3 separate regions of the Homo sapiens genome follow, and all the other regions are linked to region 1. Evidence: promoter capture Hi-C in 16 types of primary human blood cells and fetal thymus (Javierre and others, 2016). All regions are on one chromosome and are shown on one strand. The core of a region is centred on a gene start or on the middle of the fragment in contact, and the rest is flanking DNA. Distances in the headings are between cores, read along the strand shown. Region 1 holds the start of WDFY1 (WD repeat and FYVE domain containing 1). Region 2 overlaps MFF (mitochondrial fission factor). Region 3 overlaps AGFG1 (ArfGAP with FG repeats 1).

Evidence for each region. Contacts are between HindIII fragments. The CHiCAGO score rates a contact against its expected background, and 5 or more counts as called.
Region 2: a fragment that was not itself captured here is called in contact with the fragment with the promoter of WDFY1 in region 1 in 2 of 17 cell types (total CD4 T cells and non-activated CD4 T cells); the score reaches 6.2 in total CD4 T cells.
Region 3: a contact is called between a fragment that was not itself captured here and the fragment with the promoter of WDFY1 in region 1, in 1 of 17 cell types (naive CD8 T cells). The highest score is 6.8, in naive CD8 T cells.

What each region holds. Positions count from the first base shown.
Region 1 is chr2:223,943,658-223,946,904 of GRCh38, reverse strand. It overlaps WDFY1 (WD repeat and FYVE domain containing 1), which reads left to right and starts at 1,570. Exons shown (of 12, transcript NM_020830.5): 1 at 1,570-1,757. The coding sequence starts at 1,621. It overlaps LOC124907989 (a long non-coding RNA gene), which reads right to left. Exons shown (of 2, transcript XR_007088100.1): 1 at 2,498-3,247. RefSeq lists a silencer at 1,819-1,998 and enhancers at 2,569-2,628, 2,639-2,758. The HindIII fragment of the contact is 5,306 bases long and covers 1-3,247 here.
Region 2 is chr2:227,327,793-227,330,990 of GRCh38, reverse strand. It overlaps MFF (mitochondrial fission factor), which reads right to left. Exons shown (of 9, transcript NM_001277062.2): 2 at 2,202-2,313; 3 at 145-365. The coding sequence starts at 325. Among named protein-coding and RNA genes, the nearest start is that of MFF, 4.1 kb to the right of the region's middle. The HindIII fragment of the contact is 1,318 bases long and covers 1,149-2,466 here.
Region 3 is chr2:227,482,103-227,485,450 of GRCh38, reverse strand. The region is part of intron 1 of AGFG1 (ArfGAP with FG repeats 1); the gene reads right to left. Among named protein-coding and RNA genes, the nearest start is that of AGFG1, 12 kb to the right of the region's middle. The HindIII fragment of the contact is 1,974 bases long and covers 799-2,772 here.

The DNA of each region.
Region 1 (3,247 bases), core at 321-2,820:
GCGGAGGTTGCCGTAAACCGAGATCGCACCACTGCACTCCAGCCTGGGTGACGGAGTGAGTTCGTCTCAAAAAACTAAAACAAAACAAAACAAAAACAAAAAGAAAGTTCTAGTAAATCACTGTACATAGAAGTACCATCTGATTCACATCCATAATTTAAAGTTTTTATTAGCTACCTTAAAAAAATAAGCAGGTCATATTAATTTTAATAGTATCTAACTCAATATATCCAAAATAGTATCATTTCAACATGTAATCATTGTAACAATTATTGATGAACTATATTACATCTTTTTTGTTTTGTGCTAAGTCTATAAAATCTTGTAGTATTTTGCACTTGTACTACATCTCAGTTTGGACAAGCCACATTTCAAGTGCTCTATAGTCATGTGGATAGTACGGTTCTAATGCAATTCTGCAATTCAGGTGTCAGAATAATATAGTGGGGCAGAAGTTTGGAGTCATTGACTTCCTGAGTCCAAATTTTGGCTCTTGAACTTACTGGTTGTCAATGACCTCTAGCCAAAAACCACCAGGAACAAATGGGGTTGATTGCTTGTTGGAGGGAGAAGACACACCATTGGGAATGGTGAGGTGTCTGGGTAAAGGGATGTTCGGACAGTTTTATTATAGGATTTGTGTTTGTGTTAGGTGACCTGGGAGAGCTTAAGGAAGAGAGGCTCTCCTGTGGACTGGATGTTGTCAGGAAATGCGTATAATTCTAAGGTTGCATATCTTAATAAATCTTATCTAAATGGAGGAAGACTAGATAGCGGTTAACATTATAATTAATAAAGAAATAAGAGTCACTCATATTAGCCAGGATAGGGGGATGTTTGGTAATTTCTGTGGCTTGTACATCGCTCATATTTTGGCCGTGTTTAGATGTGATTATGGAGTGGCCTCGTCTGATGTTTATGTTCCACAGGAAGCAAACACTTCCTAGCAACACCAAAGCTCAGCTGATAGTACCAGGCAGCTCCTGGAGATCAAGGGCTGCTTTTCTCCCTCTCATAGCTGTGCAACCTTAAGGTAGTGATCAAACTTCTCTGGTTGTTTTCTCATCTCTAAAATGGGAATACAAGAGCATCTATTTCATCTCTTAAAATTATCAGTATTAAATGAGATGCAAAGACACTGAGTTAATGCCTGGTATATGGTCACCACTCAGTGCTATCTATTGTAGTTCAAAGATTCTAAGATGCACTATATTTTTTCACATTTTAACATTTCTGAAAGTGTGTGCCTTTCAAACAATGGCTTCTTCAAATGGATGAAATGTAGTATTGTAATTTCTGAAATCTCTGGTTTGGGGGACAATTCCTTGTCCCCTCCAGGTGCTCAATTTATTCCTGGGTGAATGGCTTTACTTTTAAACCTTCCTTACTTTCCCCATTTCTCCGCAGGCGCCCCGTGGCATCCTCTCCCAGCCACAGACTTTCAGCTTGCGCGGCATCCCCAGGCAATACGGGCGGTGCGGCGGCAGCACTCGGGGGCTTACGGCGGCGCGGCGCCCAAGAGGCCCCAGCAGCCGAAGGGAAACCGGCGCGTCCCCCGCCCGCCCAGGCGTCAGCTGATGGGCTGCCTGCCGAGGAGGCCGCAGCAGTCGCCGCGCGAACATGGCGGCCGAAATCCACTCCAGGCCGCAGAGCAGCCGCCCGGTGCTGCTGAGCAAGATCGAGGGGCACCAGGACGCCGTCACGGCCGCGCTGCTCATCCCCAAGGAGGACGGCGTGATCACGGCCAGCGAGGACAGGTAGGGCCCGGGCGCAGCCGGGGCGGCCCGAACTCCGCGACGACGGGGTGTGGGGGCGGTGGGGTCCGCGGCCCCGGTCCTTCCTGCGTGAGGGGGCTCCCCCGGCAGCACGGCCCCACCCCCACTCTGCGCCCCTTAGCTCCGCCGGGTTCCCGGTTCCCTCCCGCCGGTCCTCCAGCCTCGACTTGCACCTTTCCAGCCTGGGACCCCGGTCTCGCCGCGCCCCTCCAGCCCGGATCCCCTGTCCCACCGCGCCCCTCCAGCCCGGGAACTCCGTCTCACCGCGCCGCCCAAGCCCGGGACCCTTGTTCCAACGTGTCTTTCCAGCCCAGGACCCCTGTTCCAGTGCGCCCTACCGCGCCCCTCCCAGCCCACCTCGCCCCTCCTGCTCAGGACCCCTGTTCCAATGCTCCCCAACGCGCCCCTCCAGTCCGGGACCCTTGTCCCACTGCGCCCGTCCATCCCGGGAGCTCCGTCCCACCGCGCCCCTCTAGCCCGGATCTTCTGTCCCACTGCGCCCCTCCAGCCCGGGAACTCTGTCCCACCGCGCCACTCAAGCCCGGGACCCCGGTTCCAGTGCGCCCCAACGCACCTCTCCAGCCCAGGACCTCTGTCTCACCGCGCCCCTCCAGCGCGGGAACTCTGTCTCACCGCGCTGCTCAAGCCGGGGACCCCTGTTCCAGTGCGCACCAACGCGCCCCTCCCAGCCCACCGCGCTCCTCCAACCAGGGAACCCCGACCTGCGGTGTCGCACTAGCCTGGGACCTTCGTCCCGGTCTCTCTCCCTGGCGGGGTTTAGCCTGGTACTCGGAAGGTGTTTCTTGGCCCTCCCGGGTCAGTTCCAAATCGTCTCCTCTGGAAGCGTGGAGGACCGGCGGCTGGTCACTGCGGACCCTGGTGCCCGGGGCTTGCTTCTTTGCGAGGAACTCCAGCCGCCTTCGCTCTCTTCCTCCCCCTGTACTCAGGGATTTCACGCCACGCCAGGCCTCTAGATCAGTTATTTTTGCCACGGCTGCTAGAATCACCTGAACTCTTATTTACTAAATAGGTTTTTGTGAAAGTGACTCATTTTTAAAAATATTTGGATGCATTTATTTTAAAAGGAAATCTTATTTATTAGGAAAACTAACATTACTCACCAGACAGAGTAAACTAATAACTAAAACATGTTAATTGGCATGCACACAGAGTCCTCTCTTGCACTGTGACATCTTGCATTGGACGCCCACCATGCTTTTGGGAAACACTGATTGGGTCCAGTTTTCTCATTTCTCCTAAGAGGAAGCCGAGGCTGGTGGAGGTGTAGCTTGCTGCTAAGTTACAGAGATACTGGTGAAGCCGGAAATGCAATCCAGAACTCCCACCAGCTCTGGGCCTGAGTGATTGGATTGGAACAGTATTTATGATTCGACTTTAAACTTTAGCGTCTTTCAAATCCTAAAGGTTTACAATGTCAGTAGCTTTCCGGTGGGAATTTGAAGGAAATGACT
Region 2 (3,198 bases), core at 558-3,057, 3.4 Mb before region 1:
ATAATAATGAATAGAAATTTCAAAAGTATAAAGTTGCATTTTCCAACTCCTTTTCTAAATAACATTTAGAAAAACTCAAAAGTTTTCATAGAAACATATAAAACAAAGATTTAACAGGCAACCTTCTAAGTAAAGGTGAAATACCTGCTACAACAATCCTCTCCGGAACTTGCATTATCACACTAGCATTTGGAACTCCTTCTTGGAATCCTTGTTCCAGGTCAGCGTTTGGCGGTGCTACTTTTAACTTTTCTGGGACCCTCATTCGCTGACTAATGCCTTCAGTATATTCCATTTCGTACTGAATTCGACTAATTTCTGCCATCTCAGCAGCAGTGGGAGAAGGAAATGCTGCCCTGCTCACCCTGTGGGAGAAAAATTTAAAGACAGGGCTGACTGTTAAAATGTCAGTCTCCTCTACGCAGTGAAGTTAGAAGACAATACCTTATAGAAAGAGCGAAAGGAAACTTCTCATTTGCAAGTACTGAACACATACAAAGCAAAAATAAAAGATGAAAGAAAATGTCTTCCTCAACAAAATGCCTTCTTAATTATCAGCTGAAATTGTACCTTGAGGATATTGCTTAGGAGCAAATTTTTTAAATTATTATAGAATTACAACACAAATGTGTACACACACATACACACATACTCTCTGCGTAAACATGCATGCTGCTTGTAACTAAAAAAATGCCTGCAATAAAATTTAAACTTAAAATTTCCTCATCAATTTGAGGGAAAGCTGCTTGGACTTTAAAAATATAAAATTAAAAATTACTGTCATGCATGAAAAAATAAAACCTTTAAATGACAAATGCATCTGTTATTCAAAACCTTTAAATGACAGATGCATAACATTAACTCTGAATTTACTAAAAAAGAAGATGCAACTCCCTGAAAATCACATCATACAAACTAAAACTTCTCCTAATGACTGAGATGCAATGAATACCAAATTTAGAATTTGTAATAATAAATCCTCATGTTTGTATTCATTTTTGGAGGGACTGAAAGTTTTACACTATTAATCTGTATTTAATATCATATTTACATGTGTTTTTTTTTTTAATGCAGTAGAAAGAATGTTGCCGCCAATACAAAAGCTGATAAAAATGTAAAAGAGCATGGTTAGCCTACGGCAGTAAGCTTTAAAGCCATTGTCTCTCAAACCTATAATACCAGCTCAACTGAATAAAATTTCACTGACCTTCCTAGTGATGTGTCACTGCTTGTTCCTTTACTCATTTAAATACAGTAAATACAGGTCTATAATAGCTATTAAAATACTGCTACCCTGCAGTTCAGTTTACTTTACACAACAATTCCCCTACACATTTGAACTTTTTTTGGAGGTGTACATAACAACACGGACACTGCTTTTCCAGCTGTAAAAAAGAAAGAATAAAAATCAGTATTTCAACAATTCATTTCATAAGAAAACTATGAATAAAAGTAAATATCTACGTAAAATGACTTTTGGATTTGAACATGGCTTAGGGCTTGATTTGAGAAACCAATTGTTAAATCTATCCTAAGAAGAGTTTTTCTATACCTCAAAAATCATAAAGACAGTTGTAAGCACAGTCACTGTCTTATGATTTTGCAAACAGGATACAGAGAAGCTGTATCAAATGTATATACAAATGTGAAGTCAGATTCGAAGAAAACAATACTGCCATAAAACTCCTCTAATCATTATACTCCAAAGGGGAAAAATCCTTTTTTAAGACTAAGCCCAAATGAATAAATCATGAAGGGAATACAAAGGGTAAAAAGTAAATGTAACTGAGGCAGCCTACATATTTGACGTCTAATGGTTTCTTTAAATAAAAATAAACTTCAAAATTTAGGGTAAACTTCAAATGGAAATTACACTAAATTTTCAGCAAAGACACTATATATAAATTAAAGACATAAAAAGTTAAAGACAGTATACATGACTTTACCATGGCTAAGGTATTTCCTAAACTCCATGCTGGAGATATAGCCCCACCCTAAGCCCCCGCCTCACTGAGATGCCTAGGAGAGCTCTTAGAGGTTGCTCAGGACGCTCAGCCCCAGCAACTGGTTTGACTATGACTGCTAACTCACATCTTTTATTCTTTATCAAAAAATCTCTGGGGACATAGATCTTTAAGGATTTGGCATGCAGACGATTTAAAGACTAAGAAAGTAAGCCAAAAGGGACCATTTTTACTCACAAATGTGTAACAACTACTGCTTGCTATTTGGCACTATCTGCTTCTGTGCTTCATATTAAATCCTTTAACTTGCTTCAATGTGCATGTGCTGGATTGAGAGCCACTTTTGTCCCTGGGGAAGAAAAACAGGGGCTAATTGAGAAACTAGATGAAACCACTATTAGGGATTCATTACTGGAAATTCTCCAAATAGTAACAGTCACAAAGATGCACAACCTGACATCAAGAGACCAGTAAGAAAATAAAGAAAGAAAAAAATTAAGCTTACCACCAATCTTAGTTCCACAGATGGGGTCCTACAACTATTCATTAGTTAAGGCAATATAAAAGACTAGCTCTGTCATTGTTTCTGATTTGTATTTAGAAAAATGTGGCAGATGAAAAATACGTAAGTTTAAATGAATCTAATACTTACGTATATATATGCATATAGGTACACATATATGTTAAAGAAGAACAAATGAATTGGTTTTTTTTTTTTTTTTTTTTTTTTTGTCACCCGGGCTAGATTGCAATGGAGCTTCCTGAATAGCTGGGACTACAGGCATATGCCACCACACCCAGCTAATTTTTGTATTTTTTGTTGAGACAGGGTCTTATTATGTTGTTCAGGCTGATCTCAAACTCCTAGGCTCAAGAAATCCTCTGGCCTTCGTCTCCTAAAGTGCTGGGACTACAGGTGTGAGCCACCGTGCCCGGCCTGTTTAAATTTTCATTCACTTACGATGTTAAAATTTTGAACTAGTAATGCATGTACTCGGTACAAAGTACGCAAGCTATACAGAGAAAAGGAAGTGTCCCACTTTCAATCCTATCCTTAACCACCCAGGTTCCCACAGGCAACCTTTATAATCAATTTTTGTGCATCATTCCAGATGAGATGCTCTTCTAATACTTGCGTGTATCTCAAGCATAGCAAAAGCTCATATTCAGAACTAACACTGAAAAAAGCTACCTCAAAAAGATTATAGCCTTTGGCCATTATAAATTGAAGTTT
Region 3 (3,348 bases), core at 536-3,035, 3.5 Mb before region 1:
CAACCTGGTGAAACCCCATCTCTACTGGAAAAAAAAAAAAAAAAAAATTAGCTGGGCATGGTGGCGGGTGCCTGTAATCCTAGCTACTCAGGAGGCTTAGGCAGGAGAATCACTTGAACCTGGGAGTTGGAGGTTGCAGTGAGCTAAGATCACGCCATTGCACTCTAGCCTGAGCGAGACTCTGTCTCAAAAAAAAAAAAAAAAAAAGAAACGATTCGGTGAAACTTCAAAGACAGAGAAGATCTTAAAAGCAACTGGAATGAAAATATAGGGAACAAAATTTGGCTCGTAGTAGACTTCTCAATGGAAGGGAGAAGACCATGGAATATTATCTTCAAGTGGTAAGAAAAAATAACTTGTGAATCCAGCAAAGCTATGTTTGAAGTATAAGATCAAAATAACAGTATCTTCAGATAAAAAACAAAACAAAAAAACCCACTAGGCTAGGTACGGTGGCTTATGTGTGTAATCCCAGCACTTTAGGAGGCCAAGGTGGGCAGATCACCTGAGCTCAGGAGTTCGAGACCAGCCTGGCTAACATGGTGAAACCCCATCTCTACTAACAACAAAAATACAAAAATTAGCCGGGCATGTTGGCGCACACTTGTAATCCCAGCTACTGGGGAGGCTGAGGCAGGAAGATCACTTGAACCCAGGAGGCAGAGGTTACAGTGAGCCAAGATCGTACCACTGCACTCCAGCCTGGGTAACAGAGTGAGACTCCATCTCAAAAAAAAAAAAAAAAAAAAAAAAAAAAAAAAACAAAAAAAAAACTAAGAGATCTTCATTAAAGAAGCTTATACTGTATATACTTTAAGAAGAAAAATGACCCAAGAAAGTCTTGAGATGCTAAGGGGTAAGCAAACTGTAAACTGGCAAATCTAAACAAATATCATCTTATTACAGTAACATCCAACTAACAGAAGGAAAAAAGGGACAAATAATATGTTTACCAACAATAACACTTAAATGAGCCAGGCGCGGTGGCTCACACCTGTAATCTTAATCCCAGCAGGCGGGTGGATCACTTGTGATCAGGAGTTCGAGAGCAGCCTGGCCAACATGGTTAAAACTCCATCTCTACTAAAAATAGAAAAATTAGCCAGGTGTGGTGGCAGTCCTCAATCCCAGCTACTCAGGAGTCTGAGGCAGCAGAATCACTTGAACCTGGGAGGCAGAGGTTGCAGTGAGCCGAGATCACGCCACTGCACTCCAGCCTGGGCCACAGAGTAAAACTCCGTCTCAAAAAAAAAGAAACACCACTTAAATGAAACTACTTTGTATTTTTAAAGACCTTGTATTAACAGAAGATTAAAATACTGATTAACTCTGGAATGTTAATATCAATAGTACAATTTCAATTGTGACCATAAAAGAAAATGGAGGGTGGGGGTAGGGGGGAGGGATAGCATTAGGAGATATACCTAATGTTAATGGGTGCAGCACACCAACATGGCATGTGTATATATATGTAACAAACCTGCACGTTGTGCACATGTACCCCAAAACTTAAAGTATAATAAAAAAAAGAAAACGGAATTCCACAAGTAAAAGGGAAAAATCAAAACAAAACCAAAAAAACTTGGCCAATTTTTTAATTAAACATGCATGTGCCATACAACCTAGCCCTAGATATTTACCCAAGTGAAATGAAAACTTACGTTCACCCAAAAACTTGAGCATAAACATTTACAGCATTTCCATTCATATATATCAAAAACTAGAAACTCCTCAAACAGAAAATGGAAAAACAAACAAGCAATGGAATACTACTTAGCAACAAGGAGGAACAAACTATTAAGATAAACAACAACTAACTTGGATTAATCTTAAAGATAATATGTTGAGTGAAAAAAGGCAATCTAGAAAAGTTATGAGTCCATTTACACAACATTCTTGGAAAGACAAAACCTGCAGTGTTGGAGAACAGATCAGTAATTGCCAGGAGTACAGTAAAAACAAGGGCTAAAAGTTTTTTGGGGTGATGGAAAACTTGCATGTTCTAATTTGAGTGGTGGCTATATGAATCTATACATATGTTAAGATTCACAGAACTGCATACCAAAAAATTATAACGTATGTCAAGAAATAAAAAAACTGTAGTCCTGATTTCGTGTTAGTATCTATAGTAACCACAATTTTTAGAGTAATTAAATTTATCATTAGCAGACTATCTTCACCTACCAAATTTGATCATTTAAGTGAATAAAATCCTGCAGTGAATCAAAACAAGTATTTTTAAGATGTGAACCTGAGGTCACTTCCCTTTTTTGCTAAAGCCCTTCTAGCTACAGGGTGAATTCAGGGTTTATAAAACACTTTTCTGTCATATTAGTCATAACTATTGGATGAAAGTGTTGGGTAAGTAAACCACATTACTTTCATGGGGCCAATACTGAAGTACCACCCATTCCAGATCCTCAAATACACATTTTAAGTCTTCAGTTTTGTGCAAAAAAAAAAAAAAAAAAGACTCAATAACTGCAGTTTTGATATCTTGAAAACATGTTTGCAAGTTAACTGGTTTCAAGAAGTTCAAAGTAGCCTACTGGTGCAGCCCAATACATTTTTGTAGTATAATTAAGACATCTGCAGATCCCCAGGAGATTTAGTTTTAATGACCACCACCCAGGTATGACTGTAACCAGATGGTGTGGCTCATTCCATATGTCCATCAGTGTGCTGCTCTTAACTAGGCCTCAAACAATCTTGCAAATAACCATTTGTTCAATTCAAATAACAATCTGTGCTGGATGAGTAAGTAGGAAAGCTTATTTAGTTAGTTTTATTAATTGTTTTTCTCCTGCTGTGGGAGAAGCTGGTAAAAATATTTTTAATAACCTGTGGAAGTTTATGTAGTTGCCAATAATACTGGCAGAAAGTAATAAAGTTGACATTTAGATCTAGCCCATCCTAGTTATTTACTAAAAATATTACATATGTTTCATAGCATAAAATTATACATTTAAAATCTAGAACAGATGGAAGGAAGGTGCCTTTAGTAGGTTATCAAATCTACAAACTATTGATGCCAAGACACCGTATATGTTGGCTAGTCCAAAATATTCGTCTATCCAGAGTCCAACATTAAAAAACTGAATATATTTAGCTTTCTATATATAATAATAAGCATGATATAAATCCCTATTGTTATTCTGAGTTTCTGGGAAAGCCACAAATACTACACCATAAGGTCCTTGTAACACTTAGAGCAAGCATCTAAAAAATAATATTCAAGTTATGACTTAAACCTAATTAAGGCATTCTAGTTAAAAGTAGTGGACAAGGCTGGGTGCGGTGGCTCACGCCTGTAATCTCAGCACTTTGGGAGGCCGAAGCGGGCAGATC